2 separate regions of the Homo sapiens genome follow, and region 1 is linked to region 2. Evidence: promoter capture Hi-C in human tissues and cell types (Jung and others, 2019). All regions are on one chromosome and are shown on one strand. Each heading gives the region's core, a stretch centred on a gene start or on the middle of the fragment in contact. The rest is flanking DNA. Distances are from core to core; before and after follow the strand shown. Region 1 overlaps ZP2 (zona pellucida glycoprotein 2). Region 2 holds the start of DNAH3 (dynein axonemal heavy chain 3).

What was found. Contacts are between HindIII fragments. The study calls those that stand out against the background at their distance.
Region 1: a contact is called between a fragment that was not itself captured here and the fragment with the promoter of DNAH3 in region 2, in 1 of the 25 tissues and cell types used here (aorta).

What each region holds. Positions count from the first base shown.
Region 1 is chr16:21,204,045-21,206,793 of GRCh38, reverse strand. It overlaps ZP2 (zona pellucida glycoprotein 2), which reads left to right. Exons shown (of 19, transcript NM_001376232.1): 6 at 1,019-1,063; 7 at 1,210-1,374; 8 at 2,390-2,486; 9 at 2,583-2,749. Among named protein-coding and RNA genes, the nearest start is that of ZP2, 6.2 kb to the left of the region's middle. The HindIII fragment of the contact is 3,204 bases long and covers 1-2,749 here.
Region 2 is chr16:21,149,579-21,152,278 of GRCh38, reverse strand. It overlaps DNAH3 (dynein axonemal heavy chain 3), which reads left to right and starts at 1,433. Exons shown (of 62, transcript NM_001347886.2): 1 at 1,433-1,528; 2 at 1,745-1,989. The coding sequence starts at 1,960. The HindIII fragment of the contact is 16,051 bases long and covers 1-2,700 here.

The DNA.
Region 1 (2,749 bases), core at 118-2,617, 55 kb before region 2:
GGGGAATATGATGATGATCTAACCAGGGCGGGGCTTAGAAATCAGACCATGATTTAATCCTGTACTTGCTAATTTTCTGTGTGATGAGGTTTAACTTTACCCTGAGGCTTTGTTTCCAAGTCCAAAGTGATGGGACAATAATGCTTACCTCAGGGTGGCTCTAAGAATTTACTGAGGGTATATACATGGTACTTGGCACATCATGCATGGCAATAGGGTTTTATTGGTAGTTGCACTCACACTAATCATCTGACAAATGGAATACATGCCATGTTCCAGGCCCTACCCTAGATGCTAAGATACAATAAGTGAACAAAACGACCCAGTCACATCTTCATGGGTTTAGAGTCTAACATGGCTAATGTCAACAATGGACAACTAAAAATAACACTGACATAAAAGCAACTCAATAACAATGATAGAACTGCATGGCTTTTACATAGTACCTGATTTCTATGGACATTGGTGAAAGGGCAAACGTTTAAGAACATTGTCCTGGTCAGGCATGGTGGCTCATGCCTGTAATCCCAGCAATTTGGGAGGCTGAGGTAGGTGGATCACCTGAGGTCAGGAGTTTGAGACCAGCCTGACCAACATGGTGAAAACCCATCTCTACTAAATACAAAAAACTAGCCGGGTATGGTAGTACATTCCTGTAATCCCAGCTACTTGGGAGGCTGGGGCAGGAGAATCGCTTGAACCCAGGAGACGGAGGTTGCAGGGAGCCGAGATTGCACCATTGCACTCCAGCCTGGGCGATGAGCGAAACTCTATCTTGGGGGGAGAAATGTGTCCCAACTTACAACTGGAAAGGAGCTTAGATCTTCCAGCTGCCTCTTGGGATCAGAAGTTCAAAGAAGTATAATGACATCTAAGGGCACAGTCAGGGTTCATGTGCTTCTTCCACTGCATCCCACAGCAGGCCTTTTGGTATGACAACCACACAGCAATTTCTGGCATGAATTCGGAAACATCTACCTCCAAATCAAAGTCTTACATCACAATTCTTTTCTTCCAGTTTTCCTTGCCACGGGTCTTCTCTGGCTTGGCTGACGACAGTAAGGTATGAAGCAAATTTTAAAAATCAGACCTTAATAACCTTTAATTCTATGTTAAAGGTGATATTACCTTTAACCTGATAAATTGTTAGACTACCAGAGACTTGGTTAAGGGAGCACCAGCCCTCTAAACAAAGCTTTTTGACTTCAGGGGACCAAAGTTCAGATGGGATGGAGCATTGAGGTTGGTGATGGTGCAAGAGCCAAAACTCTGACCCTGCCAGAGGCCATGAAGGAAGGCTTCAGCCTCTTGATTGACAACCACAGGATGACCTTCCATGTGCCATTCAATGCCACTGGAGTGACTCACTATGTGGTAGGTGTGGAAGTCTGGCTTTGTACCACCAAAGCACAGGCCAGTATTCCTAAATTGAAGCATGATCTCAACCATGTCTTCACATTAATTTATAATACAACCCATTTTAATGCCTATTAAGTGCCAAACACTTCGCTGGGTATTCACACCTGTAATCCCAGCACTTTGGAAGGCTGAAGCGGGCAGATCGCTTGAGGTCAGGAGTTCAAGACCAGCCCGGCCAACCCTGTCTGTTTAGTGAAACCCTGTCTCTACTAAAAACACAAAAACTTAACTGGGTGAGATGGTACATGCCTATAATCCCAACTACTCAGGAGGCTGAGGTGGGAGAATCGCTTGAACCCAGGAGGTAGAAGTTGCAGTGAGCCGAGATTGTACCACTGCACTCCAGCCTGGGCGACAGAGCGAGACCATTTCTCAAAAATACATAATCCTTACCTCAATCTAGTCTCTTTCCCATAGTCTTAAATCTATAGTACAACACAGAACAAGCATATTCCTGAAAGCTTTATGGGTTAAGGGGTTCTGTTTGGGTTGTCATTGTCCTATATTGTTTTATAGCAAGTATTGGTGCTTTCCAGGCCAATAGTCTGAACACTGCACTAAATGAATTAATCTCCTAAAGTACTTAGGACAGGTCCTGAGATGTAAGTGCTCAAATGCCAACCACTTCAAGAACAGTCCTATCTCCCAGTAAGAACACAAATGGATTGAGGCTTGAAAACATTGTCTGGCTGCTGATACTTTAAAATAGTCATATGGGGTAAGGACAGATCTTATCTGCCTAGAAGTCATTGGCTACAGGTGATCTAGACAACATTCTTCCAGATGTTAGAACAAGGTTAAAACTAATATACCTCCAGATTAGACAAATTAGTCATTAGACAAATGCTTAAATCCTACTTGTGTCAAAGTAGTGCCCATTACTTGGATATATACTTGCCAAGATGATTCTTACTGGTTAGAGATTCAAGTAACCAATGTTTTTGAAGATCACTGTTATTTCTCCCCCTAGCAAGGTAACAGTCATCTCTACATGGTGTCTCTGAAGCTTACATTTATATCTCCTGGACAGAAGGTGATCTTCTCTTCACAAGCTATTTGTGCACCAGGTAAGGTCCCAGATAGCTGCAACCTCAGTGTGGGAGACATTGTCCTAGAAGCTTAATCAAGGCTGGTAATGGGCATTCTGTTGTCATTCCTTCTAGATCCTGTGACCTGCAATGCCACACACATGACTCTCACCATACCAGAGTTTCCTGGGAAGCTTAAGTCTGTGAGCTTTGAAAACCAGAACATTGATGTGAGCCAGCTGCATGACAATGGAATTGATCTAGAAGCAACAAATGGCATGAAATTGCATTTCAGCAAAACT
Region 2 (2,700 bases), core at 184-2,683:
AAAGTTATGTATCTCTCAGTTTTTTTGTTTGTTTTTCTTTTTTTTTGAGATGGAGTTTCGCTCTTGTTGCCCAGGCTGGGGTGCAGTGGCATGATCTGTGCTCACTGCAACCTCCCTCCCAGGTTCAAGCGATTCTCCTGCCTCAGCCCCCCAAGTAGCTGGGATTACAGGCGACTACCACCATGCCCGGCTAATTTTGTATTTTTAGTAGAGATGGGGTTTCACTATGTTGGCCAAGCTGGTCTCAAACTCCTGACCTCAAGTGATCCATCCACCTCAGCCTTTCAGAGTGCTGGGATTACAGGCATGAACCACCATACCTGGCCCATATCTCTCAGTTTTGATTCCTTATCCTTAAAATGGGAATATCGTGGTGTTTGGGGGGAAATTGAATGAAAAAAAAAGATATGCAAGCATGGCACCCCCAAAAAACTCATTAAGTCTAACTTGGTTTTGAGAGAACTTCACAGTGACCATGGAACATGTGCTTTTAATATTCGGGCGGCAGCTAATATTGTTACTTTTGAGTATGTGCACATGTATTTCTGTGTTTATCGTAATATTGATGTTAGCCACAACATTTATAGAGCATTGACTGTGTTGGGTGATCAAACTATCCCAGTTTGCCCAGGACTGAGATTGCTCCCAGGATGCAGGACTTAGTGTTAAAATGGGGAAAAACTGGGCTGGGCGCAGTGGCTCACACCTGTAATCCCACACTTTGGGAGGCCGAGGTGGGCGGATCACGAGGTCAGGAGATTGAGACCATCCTGGCTAACACGGTGAAACCCCGTCTCTACTAAAAATACAAAAAATTAGCTGGGCGCACTGGTGGGAGGCTGAGGCAGGAGAATGGTGTGAACCCGGGAGGCAGAGCTTGCAGTGAGCTGAGATCACGCCACTGCACTGCAGCCTGGGCAACAGAGCAAGACTCTGTCTCAAAAAAAAAAAAAAAAACGGGGAAAAACTGGGAAAATATCAGTTATCCTTCTACTATATGCAAATCGCTCTGTACACGTTATCCCGTTAACCCTTCAAAGCAACCCTATGAAGTAGGGACTCACATTATTGCCATTTTACAGACGGAAAGGACACTTGGAGAGATTAAACAACTTGCCAAGCCACACAGCTAATTAATGAGAAGAGTAGGATCTGAAGTATGACCTGTCCAATTGTAGATCCCAAGAACTTAACCACCATACTCTGTGCTTTTCGACGTCTCCAAAGGTCTTTTATTGCTGTTGCCTCTGTTATTCCTGGAACATTGCTAAACACCTTCCCATGTTCCCTTCTGTCACCAACACTTCCTGCTGCCCACCTGGGCCTCCAGCAAAGGGAGACACCAGCTCACAGAGCTAGGTCATGCCCAGTCTTGTATGTAGGCACCGCAGAGGCCCCTCCTTCCCTTAGCAACAGACGCTGAGACATGGTTACTGTGCCCAGCGCCTGCATACAAGCACTGCCAGTGTTAAGAGTCCAGGGAGGAGGAGGGAGAACAGTTCGGGCTGCCAGGATGTTGTTTGGAGGGGTGAGTCTCCCTCTTCTCTGTATTAATGTGTAACTCTGCTTCAGTCTTTCCTCTGCAGTGAACTCAGTGTGTTTCTGGAAAATTTCCAAGAGAGAAGCACTCAAGGGAAAGGAAGCGTGGCCACCGCTGGGGGACTAGGAACCAGAGCCAAAAGCGCAGCAGAAACCCAGTGCTGTCCCCTTATCTCTAGCTTCCCTTTCTCTCCTTTTTTACCAGGGAACTCCTCAGCGGGCCAAAGTCTATGACCTCAGAGAGGCAACCTCATGAACAGAGCTTTCAGAACATCTGGAAAGTTCCATTGTTGGTGTCATCCCCATTATGCTATAAGGAAGTGTGAATTTCAGACCAACTGGATAGGAGAGGCACATCCCTGGAGAAGCTGAAAGCTCTTTATTCATTTTAAAAAAATAGCTACAATTAGAGTGGACACCATGGGTGACATGGATTGCTCATCTCAGAAGGTAGGTGTGAATTTTAAGACGTTTCTTGTTTTACCTGTATTTTTTTTTTTTATTTTTTATTTTGAGACAGAGTTTTGCTCTTTGTTGCCCAGGCTGGAGTGCAATGGTGTGATCTCGGCTCACTGCAACCTCCGCCTCCTGGGTTCAAGTGATTCTCCTGCCTCAGCCTCCTGAGTAGCTGGGATTACAGGCATGTGCCACCACACCTGGCTAATTTTGTATTTTTAGTGGAGACAGGGTTTATCCATGTTGGTCAGGCTGGTCTTGAACTCCCGATCTCAGGAGATCCGCCTGCCTCAGCCTCCCAAAGTGCTGGGATTACAGGTGTGAGCCACCGTGTCTGGCCGATTTACCTGTATTTTTAATGTGTTGGGAATATGTGGGAAGAGGGCCAATTGGCATGTTAGATGCCCTTGACTGAACAAGTGTATTCATCACATTTTTTTGTTGTCTGCTTTGAAATATCATTTTTGCTGAATTAGACTTTTGGAAATCTTCAAGTTTTGCTGTGAAAAATCCGGGAATAGACACCCGTTCTTCCCTTTCCTTCCCTTCCAAGCCCATTAGACCATATATTCCAACCATCAGTTTTTGACTGTGGCTGAACATTAGAATATTCTGGGGAGCATCTTAAAAACATAGAGTCTTGGTCCCCCACTCCTAGATTCCGATCCAGAAGATTTGGAGTGGGGCCCTGGAATCTATATTTTT